Regions from separate parts of the Homo sapiens genome. Here region 2 is linked to region 1. Evidence: promoter capture Hi-C in 16 types of primary human blood cells and fetal thymus (Javierre and others, 2016). All regions are on one chromosome and are shown on one strand. The core of a region is centred on a gene start or on the middle of the fragment in contact, and the rest is flanking DNA. Distances in the headings are between cores, read along the strand shown.

Region 1 (6,174 bases), core at 2,184-4,683:
CCCGGGAGGCGGAGGTTGCAGTGAGCCGAGATCGCGCCACTGCACTCTAGCCTGGGTAACAGAGCGAGACTCTATCTCAAAAAAAAAAAAAAAAAAAAAAAAAGTTAAGGATGGCAGATTAGAAAGTTAAAGTCGATCTTAATAAAACAAGGGAAAGGGAACAGAAAGGAAAGAGTGTCATCATCTGAAGGTTCATAAAGAATACTTGAATTACATTTTTAAAACTCAAAAATACATAAACTTAGGCACACTTTACCCTCTTATATGTCTCTTGAGATTTTCCTTTTAAAAACTCCCCCCTTAAAAAGTGATCCGAATTCTCTTAAAGAACATACCTGATTTTTGGCTGCAACTCCGATTGTTCTATTTTTTGATCCAAATGATATGACTGACCTAGAAAAAAATATATTCCAAAAAATTAAAAAGCATAAAGGTTGATATTTTAAACTGATAAGAGAAAAATACTAACATAAATGTCCTACCCATTAGGGGATAGGGAACAAGCATAGCACAATTTTAAGGTCTATAGCTTTCATCAGATACTCAAAGGGGGCTTCCACTTAATTGCTGCTCTGAGATCCAACCTAGGTGGCAGTTCTACTACCCCAAAAACCTCTGCTCGTGGCTCAGGAATTCTCCAGGTTCCAGTTATTATGAACCGAACATTAACTTTGAAAATGTTTTAAATATGTTAACGGTATTATTAATTTGACCCTACACACGACTAACAAAAAATAGGATGTGACTCTACCTTTCAGTCACCAACTCTGTACAAATCTAAATGTCATTGTCATACCGACTTTTGTTCTGATATACCACCGGCTTCTTTAGGAATCAAAAGTTTTTATGCAAACGCAAGCAAATGAACCCAAGTTACACCTCTGAAGTTTAAAGAGCACAAAGAGGTTCCCATCTGGGAGATTCTGCCGGAGAAAGAAAAAAATGATGCACAACAAGTACCATGGCAAAACAGAATATAAATGTCGAGGGAAAGGAGTGACTAATCAGTTACATCAAATCTGTTTTGAAGAGATGGAAAGTGACTTACAACTGTGAAACAACCTTCTCAGCCACCATGGAAATGGAACCGCACAATAACAGAGCAGAGACTAGCTTAAAAAGTCTTGTGAGAAGAAGGTAAGTGAATTAGGTTTTGGATTAGAGGAGTTATCTAATTCTGGATTACTAATTCAAATATAATCTAATTTTGGGTGAGTTACTCCTACCTGCTTAGGTATGAGTAATGGTAAACGAGATGAGCAAAACGGGAAAATACTGAGGGCATTAAGTACCACCCTTAAGTTTAAATTTGCTATAATAGAAACATCCTCAAACTATATTATCTGAGCAAGTGTTAAATAAAATAGCATCCTAAAAGCCAGAGAAGTGTCCAAGCAGAAGCTAGACAAGAAACCGTCAAAATCAGAGCATCACTGTAAGCTCTGAATAACCATACACTTGCAGAATGGATCTACTCATTTTCCTAGGGGAGAATCAAATTAATTGTACTAAATAACAATTAGTAGCTGATACAATAGAATCCACCACAATTATAGTTTAACAAACATATTAAGGGGAACTCCAATACTGCCCTCAGTTCACATTTTTCAGGGCCATACCTGTTGTCTTTGATTTCACACAGTAGTCCCTGTATAACACAATTTTTTTTCCCACTCTCTTCTCTGAAAAGCTTTTCTTTGTTTTATTGGATCAACCAGAACAAAGTATAAACTGTATCTAGGCATGAAAGCCTGAAATACTGTTTTCTTTCTTACTAAACTCCAATTAAAAAAACCTTAACCAAAACACAAACTTAGATCTGCAGGGGTAGACGTACAGGTTGCTCAGAACAGTCTTCCTAACGTTACTAACATTGCCAAATATTTTGCCTCAGATTTTCCACTCAACTTTCATAAACGTTCTCAGCACCCAAATAATTGTATTACCCCAGTCATTCATTCTACCTTTAGGTTCAATGTTTTCATTTTGCACTTTTCATCCTGAGCTTGGGACATTTGAAAAAAATTAATAGGTACAGTATTTTCCTTGAGATGAAATCATTTGTTTTCATCAATGCACATGCAGATATGTTTGTATATATTCTCGTCCGAAAATATCCCTTCACGAAACTTGCTTTTTAAAATGTTGCCCTTTGCCCACCCTATGCTCCTATAGAATATTTAGTTCAGTGACGACATCCATCCTCTTTTGGCGTCCTAGCACAAAAGTATGCAATTTTTATTCTCTTTTAAATAAACTGTGCAAAATTAATTTTAAAAATACGGTTTACAATTCCTCATGAATGGCAAAGAGCAAAAAAAAAGACGTTTACATCTTTCGACAATGATCCCGGGCATTAAGGCCAACAATGTTAGCAACGAAGAGACTGGGTAAAAAGAGGTGGGCTAATCTTTCATAGGACTGCTTCCGTGGTCGCTAACAACAATCCGCCTGCTCACTGGACAAGCAGCGACACAAGCTCTGGAAGCTTCCAGTTCATTTCGAGATTCACAATGCGGAAGAAAAAGGCCGGCAGCCCCGCTCCGCGGTGCGCAAAGATATGCGCGAAGGGAGGAGGACAAGCTGGAGGCGGCTCAGCCAGCTCAGAGAGGCCGGGTGGGGATACGGGGGCGGCCGCGGAAGGCGCAGGCTGCAGCCTGCCAAGAAAAGGGAGCGAAGTTGCGGGCTTTGCCGCAGCCCGACCCCCAGTAGGTTTTGAAAACCCCCAATAGGAAGCCCGCACAAGGTGACGACCCTTAGAGTCTCGACTCTGGGACTCCTCTCACCCCCGTGAATCCCTGAGACAATCCCTTCTCCAATTTGTGATGGCAAGCCCCCCATCCCTCCTCTGGCCGGGTCGCTGGTCCCTAGTTCCACGGAGGGGTGCGCCGCTGCCCAAACGCCTCCGTTTGCCGCGGTGATCCGTACAGCCAGCCCGCGATCTTGGGTCCCCACACTAAGGGCCCAGAACCTCCTCCCATCCACCCTCGCAGACTCCCACTTACGGGGTGCACCGGTCGCTGAACTCATTGGCGATGGTCTCGATGCCCCCGGCCCGGGCTACCGCGATGTAGCAGCTCTGCGAGCCCACGTCCAACCCCACCACCGACATGGCCGGCTCGCGGTCCGCCTCCGCCTCGGGTCTCGGTCTGCGTCCTCCGGCCCCCTGCCTGCTTCTCCTGCCGCCGCTTTCTGCCCTGGCCGCGTTCTGCTCCGGCCCGCGGGGTCTGGCCGTTCCTCTGACACTCAGAAGGACACACAGACAGCCGCGGCCTGTCAGGAGCCTCCTACTCCCCCGGGGACAGCGGCGGCTGGCTGATAAGAAACCCTGGGAGAAAGCGGGGCTCAGCCTCCGCAGGTCGCTCCGCACCTCGGGTTGCCTGCCTCACTCTGCCGCGGCTCGCACACCGGCGCCGGCGCTGAACTACCGACCCAAAAGGGGAGGTCCCACTTCCTCAGCCTTATGTATCGCACTGATCAGAACTTTCCAGAATCTGCGGCATTTACTCACCGGCGCCTCCACCGGCCCCTCCACGTGCCACTTCCGCTTCCTTCTTCTCGAGCCTTCTGGAAAGATTCTACCCAATGGGCAGCCGGTCCCCGGAGAACGGCCGCCGTTGCCATGGCAGCGACAGGGCCGCTCCCGTGCCATTGGCTCAAACCTGCCTCCGCCCACTCCCGCCCTAGCCACAGGCGTTTTGCTGCCCTAATAAAACAGGCAACGAAGAATGACTCCAAAACTCGGAATAGTCACAATTTACTACCGGGAGGTGGTGTCCGATCCTTAACGCTAAAGGGAGGCTGGGCGGGCGGAGACAGACCCCATTTTTGCAGAGACCCCAGACACCGGGATGGTGGGGAGGCCGGCCAGCTGTCCGGAGAGCATGTTGGGAATCGTAGTCCCGCTGGGAGAAGTGTGCGCCTTGCATGCTGGGATGTGTAGTCCTGGCCGCAGTGCTTGCTGGGACCCGGCTTTGTCTTCTGGGACTCGCGAGAGAGGCTGGGTAGGGTTTTGTCTGGCGCTTTTGCGCGGGTTCCCTGGCAATAAGCGTCATTTTGTTCGTTTGTTTTGTATTCACTTCTATTATTGTCTGGATTACCCCGACAACTGGTGCGTTACGACTTAGGAGAAGGAACACCAGTTCAAACCGCTTATAATAAAAGCAAAGGGGTTGTGTTAAGTGTTCTTGTATTCATCAGGCAGCAGGATGATCTCTTGTGGAGTAAAATGTCAGGTGTTTTTTTTTTTAAGAAATCGATTTTTAGTTGTGACGTCATTTGGCAGGCTGTCCACGGTATCACTTTCTGCTTATTTTTAAAAGGTCTGATTTAAGCCGACGCTGTTCTACCCTGCCACTCCTAGCCATAAATTGGTACTGTGTGTAAGTTTTGCTTTTTGTTTGATCTGAAGCAGCTTTTGTTTCTTTCCCTCAGAAGCGATGTCCCCGTTAACTTTTGTTCAGTAAAGAGACAGTGTAAGAAAAGGTGGAACTGTGTTGCTGATAACTTATCAGGTCTTTTATACCCTTTTGTGTCTTTTTAAGTTTGCTTCTGATCCCTGAGTTTACCTTATGTCAGGCATGTGGAAGTATAAGCACAGTTCAAATATGTTATTGGATAAGCGTGTAATTGAATAAGGAGTTGTAACCTAAAGTTAGAAAAATCTAACTCATAAAGAGTATGGGAATTCCTCCTTGTCTATCAAAACAAGTTGGTTAAGTCAGAGGCAAGACGAAAGGCCCAGGTTTACATTACATGTAAATTGTATGTGCTTTTGCTAGTTTTCCTGCCACTTAGGTGGCTTACTTAACATGCTTCAGTTAACTCACCTTTAAAATGGGAGCAATAATAGTTATCACGGGGTTGTTGTGTTCTTACATTTGGACATATAGTTAGCTGTAACTATAAGTTATTTTTGTTATGCATCCCAAAAACTTGGTTTCTGTCCCCACCCCCCGCCCACCAACTTTTTCTTACATATCAAAACCTTATAATAAAATCCATGGAGACATAGCAATTTTGAACAGAAAGAACCTTTGAGATTATTTGGTCTGCTTCCCACATTTTAACTGCCGTACGAAGAGGAGACATGAACAGTTCTCAGTCTTTGGAGCCAGACAGATTTGGGTCAGGTTCAAATCCTTGGCACTCTACTAAGATGTTTTATATAAAGTACAGCTTGTAAGGGCACCAGGCCTCCTGGAGTCAGACATCATGGGCTTGAATCCTAGCTATTCTTATTTGTGAGCTGTGTGATGTTGCGATAATTACTAAGCCTTTCTGTATTCCATCTCATGGTGTTTATGTAATGATGGAAACTATATGTAAAGCACTAAACATATATAAACATAAACATATAAAGTCTGTCATCTTTGTCAAATTCCTCTTTGCCCTCTGTTTCCTCGACTGTAAAATGGAAGTAATACCTATTTTTGCTAGGATTTTGGAAGGATTAGATATAAATAAAACATGGTATGGTGGTATTTGATAAATTGTAGTAATAGAAGTAATATCATTCAGTGAAAGTCAGTACAAACTTTAATCTTGTACTGCTGTGGATGTGTTGTGTAGTCATGGTGTAGCCCCCTTTTATTTAATCGATTTGCCTTAATTATTCAGCACAACAGGTAAGTGATAAGAGGTTGTAAAATCTACCATATTTATTATCTAATTGAAATTCTTAGCTGGGCCAGGCATGGCGGCTCACATCTGTAATCCCAGCACTTTGGGAGGCCAAGGCAGGAGGATCACCTGAGCCCAGGAGTTTGAGGCTGCAGTGAACTATGATCACTCCACTGCACTGCAGCCTGGGCAACAGAACAAGAGTCTGTCTCTAAAAATAAAAAAATAATTCCTAGCTAGGTGCAGTGGCTCATGCCTCTAGTACCAGCTACATGGGAGGCTGAGGCATGTGGGTTGCTTCAGCCCAGGAGTTGAAGTCCTGCCCAGGCAATATAGCAAGACTATTAAAAAAATTCACTTTTAACACTTTATTATATTTTATTACTTTATATGTTTATATATTTTATTACATGTAGAATTTATCACACTTACTGTTGTAATGTCAGAAATTTTAAAATGAGACTTGGACCAAATAATGACAATCCCTACAAATCCTTGTTATGTAATTATGAATCCAATTATTAGGTTTCATTCCATATTTGTTTTAGAGAA
Region 2 (6,174 bases), core at 2,559-5,058, 5.9 Mb before region 1:
AGCCTTTCATTTATAGCTTAAAAAAGGTTCTTCCATTCCATTCAGTAAAGTTCCATTCACAGGTAAGACAATATCATTTGACATCAATATATAATGTCAGCCAAAGTACTGGCAGGGAAAGGAGAAAGACTGCATAAAGAACTGTCTCTGCATATTTCTCATTGTTTCTTGGCAGGACTATGTCATTATGGCAAAATGAGAGCTCAAAGCGATAGGTAGTAGCTGCATGATTCATAAGTGTAGCTTGGAAATGCTCTTTCAGAAATCCAGATTCAGGGACTTGGCATCTTTGATGCTATACAGTTAGTAAACCAAATGTGACCAAAACAGAATGATAAATATGTTCATTAGTATTCAGCTAAAATACTTAATCTGATAAATCTCTGGTTAGCAAGCAATAATGATCCTAAATATTATTTAAAAACAATACCGCATAAATATTATTTATTTATGACAAAAAGAGGTTTGGGGGGGAAGCTCTTAGAATTATCATCAGCATTTATTTCTGAATTAATACTAATGCACATTTAACAATTAGATTAAAACTAGAGAGGCACTGGAAAGAGCATACATAGTCTTTGGAGTTAAACACACCTTAGTTTAAATACTAATTCTATCTCTTGTGAACTAATTGAGCAGGTTACTTAAATTCTCTAAGCCTATTTCCTCCTCACCTATAAATGGAGATAATACTACCCAACTGACAGGGTTATTTAAGAGATCAGTGATGATAATGTATAAATTAACAGATTTATACAATTGTACATATTATAAAGTAATAATATTGTATAATTGGCTATATTGACATATAGTTGCTCAATAAATGGTAATTATTACTTTTCAAATAGAGCTGACTGAACAACAAAAATCACTAAATAGTCATAAAGGACACTCTACGGTCAATTTTGATCCTAATGACTAAACTACATAGAGGTCAAAACAGCTAATAAATCTAAAACAATCCACTTTTGCTTTTTAAATACTTACACTTATTTTTGCAGCAAACTAACTAAATCCAGGTGAAGGCTATGCATAATGGAAACAAAAGTTTGGCTATGTTCAAACCAATCTTTTAAAAGTAAGTTATTTCCCAATACATTAATAATTTAAGAACATGTTACAGTCCCCACAACAATTAACAGAATGTACCCTGAGGTCCACCTCTATCTTGCTGTTATATACCCAGTGTCAATACAGTGTCTGGCACATACTAGGTACCTAGAAAATATTTATTTGCGGTCTACATACACTCACTTAATATTACTCCAGAGTAGTGATCCAATACTAGAAAAACAACCCAAAGTAATAAAGGAGCATATTTGAAAAGTAGTTTTAATAGACAATTCATCAGAAATTTCTTAGTCTCTAAAAAGGCCTTATTAAACCACTAGCATGAGACCACTGTGTAAAGATAAGTCAAAATCAGAGCATTACTTGAAGAAAAGTTCATCAGTTGGTAGATAAGGAGGAATATCAGACAAAATGAAAGTCACCAGTGACAACTTTCAAAGAGCTAATAAGAGGGGCTACAACTCTACAAATAAAAACAAAGATATATATTCATAATAAATTGAATGAGGAAAGATTTAAAATAACCAAGGGATCCTAAATATTTTCCAAGTCTGTTCACTCTTATCATCCACCTAAGAATAGGATTTGCTCTAGTTGATCAGATTCAGTTTACTTTTACTGATTTTTTATTCTTTTCCGCCCCCCCCCCCCCAATTATGTCACCCAGGCTGGAGGGCAATGGCGCAATCTTGGCTCACTGCAACCTCCACTTCGTGGGCTCAAGCCATCCTCCCATCTCAGCCTCCCGAGTAGCTGGGACTACAGGTACATACCACCCCACCCGGCTTTCTTTTTTTTTTTTGAGACTGAGTCCCGCTCTATTGCCCAGGCTGGAGTGCACTGGTGCCATCTTGGCTCACTGCAATCTCCACTTCCCCGGTTGAAGCAATTCTCCTGCCTCAGCCTCTGAGTAGCTGGGATTACAGGCGCCTGCCACCATGCCCGGCTAATTTTTGTATTTTTAGTAGATATGGGGTTTTGCCAGGTTGTCCAGGCTGGTCTCGAACTCCTTACCTCAAGTGATCCGCCCACCTCGGCCTCCCACAGTGCTGGGATTACAGGCGTGAGCCACCGTGCCCAGCCTTTTACCGGTTTTCGATTGTGTGCTATGCACCGTAGAAAGCATATGAAAAATAGAGGAGCTTCGAACTGATGCAGAAGGAAGTCACGTGCACTTAGCTACTACATAATACATATCTGGAACCAATACAAGAACCTGATCCAATGTCCACTCTAGTCCTCTTTTCCTCTGTGCACCTTCTACGAGTTTGGTTATAGACTTAAGCACCCTTCCATTTTCAAAATTTAAGTACCCACAACTTGAATTCTCAAGTTATTTTATCTTTCTTCTCTTAAAAAAAAATGTTAAGGGGTTAGTTTTCAGAATCTTCAATTTTACTAGATACGGTATGCACAATGTTAAAGACAAGCTCCAATAAAAATTTATGTATACCTTTAAAAGGTTTGTGAAACATTTAAAAAATTTTTAAAAACACAAATTCTTCTTGGAACAATGAAGATAACGAACATCTGTGGTTCCCTAAATGAGCCGTAATTTTAAGATGGGCAGCAACTAAAGGGCTTCAGCTTTGCCAAAACGTCAAGAGGCTGCCTTGCAGTGGGCTCGCAGTGATTTTAAAATGTTATTCTTCTCGTCTCGATTTATGTTTTTCTCCCTCTCAAAGTTAAACTTAAATGTCGTTGGAAACGTAATTTGGTAACATTCTGATGTCATTTCCTTCCGTTTTTAAATTTGTAACGAAATAAAAATATTTGTTCGTTCTCAAAATGAAGGTCTTCCACACACAAAAATTAAGCATGGAGTGCAATAAGGTCAATCGAATAAAGCTGCATCCGACCTTTTAAAATATGGAATAACATTTTTCCCTTCTCCAGAACTCTTGACTACTGACACAGGACAATGCCTGAAGTATGAAGCACAGACACGGAAACACCGGATGCGAAAGACTGGAGACCGAGACAGCAAAGGGAGGTGGAGCGGAGTGCTGATCTCGGTTCCTCCAAAACTCGTACTGTGAATCTGTGACACGGGACAATGAAATGTGAGCAAGGACAAGCTTACACAGCATCATAATGTTAATTTGAAGACGGTTTTCCGGTTGATGAGGCAACGAAAGGCTGAAAGACTCCAAAGTTAAAGGAGCCCCAATTTTGCCCGAGAAAACGTAGAGCTAGGAGGGCGGTGACCAGTTTTCCCAGACTTATCTCTACGCACTCCAAGATGCTGAAAGTGGGACCCCTGCTCCTGTAGGTACAGGAGGCCTCTGCACCCCGCTTGGCCCAAGCTAACCCTGCCCTCCCAGACCAGGCCTGGCCAGACCCTCCCGCCCCGGGCCGGGTCTCCGCCGGGCCGGCTCCCAGCCCCAGTCAGGCCAGCAGAGCCTTCGTCTCCTCCTGCCTCAGCCGGGTCAGAGCAGGGCCCCTGAAGACTGGCGATCCCGCGCCCGACTACCTTGGTCGTCCGGATATGCTCCATCGCAAGGAGACGTCAGCCGGCAGCCGGTCTCACAGGCGTACCATACGGCTACAGAAACAGGGCGGTGACAGCGACAGAGAGCAAGCGGGAACTCCCTCCACCAGCCAGCGCCGCGGGTCTGTCTGCCGGCCCCGGTGGCGTCAACGGCGCAGGTGCAGCCGGTGAGCGCCGTCTCCTAGAAACACTTCCCCAAACCCCGCGGCCTCCCGGGGGACTCGGGGCAGGCAGACAGAGCGTGTGTGGACCGAGAGCGGCTTGCTGGTTCGTCCCGGACAGCGGCGGATCCCACAGCGCCCCCTGCTGGAGGAGGCCGGTACTGCTCACCACCCCACCCGAGGCGGTCTTTGTCATCCCGCCGAGCGGACGCGCGGGGCGGTCGGGGAGGAAGACTGCGTGAGAATGGATCCCGAGTAAAGGGTTCTTGTGGGGTGAGGGCAAGAGTGGAGGATGTTCTGAAGTCCATCGCCATACCACTGGACAGCACCAAATTTAGTTTGAGCTGCAGTTCTACTCATAAGAATGTATTCTAAGGAAATAATCAGATTTGGAGTTATTATTCTAAGGAAATAACCAAATAAGGAAACCAGCCTTATTTGAAACAATCAACTCTCCAATCCTACGGATTCCTTATGTAAAGTATGATGATTAGCTAGTCCTCAATCTGGTCTGGTGTCAGAGTCCCGCCTCCTACCTCAATTTCATACGATGTTAGCACCAGCATCCATTAAAACTCATCCTGTAGAGGGATATCACATAACGAAAATGTTAATGCTGCATTACTGAGTGAAGAAAAAACTGACTATGGAACAATAAGTTCAATGTAGCCGTGCTCTGTAATTTTTATTTATGTAAACAAAAAGTTTACATTTCTAGGTGAGGGTTACAGGTAATTTTTGTTAGAACACGTCTAATGTGGTACTTCTCAGCCTGGAGTGAGTTTTCTCCCCGGGGGACATTTGGTAACATCTGGAGATATTTTTGGTTGTCTCAAATGGTGGTGGTGGGGGGGTGGCGGCGGGGGGCAACTGGTGGGTGGAGGCCAAGTCACAAGTCGGCTGCTGAACACCCTACTAGGCACCAGACCAACCCCCCAACTACAGGGAATTATCCGGCAGATGACAACAGTGCAGAGGTTGAGAAACCCTGCTCTATGCCAGGCGCGGTGGTTCACGCCTGTAATCCCAGAACTTTGGGAGGCTGAGGCGGGCGGATCACTTGAGGTCAGGAGTTAGAGTCCGAGAAACTCTGCTCTACGTTTTGTAAGTATTCTGTACTAAGCCGGTTAAGGTTTGTAATCTTCATCTTTCATACTGTGATTGGTGTTAGAAAAGCCTAACATCTAAATTTTCTTTTATAATTAAAAATTTTGTTTCACTTATTTGTTTCATTTTGTTCAAGTTGTCTTGGTTTGTTTTGTTTTGAGTGCCTACGATGTTTCAGACAGATTGCCAAAGCAATGGAGATGGTTATTAAACACAACAGCCTTTGCGGTGGAGTTGCTGACTCCTCTAAGCTAAATATGTAATAAGAGTTACATTAAACCACCTAGAAACCAACCTTAGTACAGTATCACATCCACCCCCTCCCCCCGAAAAAAAACCCCACAAATCCTGCTCAGAAAAAAAAAAAAATATATATATATATATATATACACATATATATATATATATATATACATATATATATATATACACATATATATATATATAGAGAGAGAGAAAAGTAATGTAGGTCTTTACTGAGGATTGCTTTTTGAGAAAACAGAAAGAGGTGAATTGTATAGCATACAGCAAGACTTTCTTAACAAAACTTTTTATATCATTTTCCTCCCAATTTACAACTTCCTCCTTCCCCATTCCCCTACAGATTATCCTCCCTCTTCTCATCTCCTCACTTCCTGTGTCCTCTCTTTACCAATTCTCACAGAGAGGCAATCATAATGATGTCAGGTGACCAAATGTACTGAGTGCTTTACGGGTATTCTGAGGAAAATGCTATTGCTTTCTTTATTTTAGAGATGAGACAAGCGAGACACAATGAAGTGAAGTAACTTGCCCAATATCACATAGCAGATAAAGCCAAGATCCATGTTATAAAGCCAGACAGGCTGACTTCAGAGTCTGTATTCTTAACAACTGTTTTACATTGATTTGCTTCTCAAAATCCATATTAAAGTTCTATTTATGTTAATATGATAGGCTAGAAAATTACCTAGCTTTACAGAAAGAAAGTAAAATAACAGATAAAATATTAAATGACGTTTCTTTGACTCTTGAGTTGAATACTCTTGCACTAGATAGAATATTCCTTATGGTTAAATCTGGCAATCACTCAGTTCCATTATCTTTCCTCGAGACATCTCTTTAGAGGTCTCCAGATGCTTCTAGGAGCCTTTTCTCCTTTTGCTCCAGTTTGCACTTGTGTTCTCTGAGCCTACTGAATGGATATTATCCTGGGACTCTCCTCACCATGGGCCTGAGAAATGTGTTGGTTACTTGTGCTGAATTTTTAGATCCTGTGGTTTATCTTTCTTGATTTACTTACTTGCATTGTTTTATTCTGATGTAGTATATTCTGTATTAACTTCCTGAGAAAGGGTGAATGGA

What was found. Contacts are between HindIII fragments. The CHiCAGO score rates a contact against its expected background, and 5 or more counts as called.
Region 2: the fragment with the promoter of MTMR6 here is called in contact with the fragment with the promoter of HSPH1 in region 1 in 1 of 17 cell types (total B cells); the score reaches 5.1 in total B cells.

What each region holds. Positions count from the first base shown.
Region 1 is chr13:31,158,471-31,164,644 of GRCh38, forward strand. HSPH1 (heat shock protein family H (Hsp110) member 1) reads right to left here and starts at 3,434. Exons shown (of 18, transcript NM_006644.4): 1 at 3,006-3,434; 2 at 336-393. The coding sequence starts at 3,112. It overlaps LOC105370148 (a long non-coding RNA gene), which reads left to right and starts at 4,190. Exons shown (of 3, transcript XR_941825.3): 1 at 4,190-5,627. RefSeq lists enhancers at 2,528-3,073, 3,074-3,619, 3,231-3,310, 3,441-3,560, 3,791-4,060. The HindIII fragment of the contact is 12,297 bases long and covers 2,487-6,174 here.
Region 2 is chr13:25,283,680-25,289,853 of GRCh38, forward strand. MTMR6 (myotubularin related protein 6) reads right to left here and starts at 3,809. Exons shown (of 14, transcript NM_004685.5): 1 at 3,545-3,809. The coding sequence starts at 3,568. RefSeq lists enhancers at 3,189-3,809, 3,513-3,852, 3,953-4,122. The HindIII fragment of the contact is 4,901 bases long and covers 3,148-6,174 here.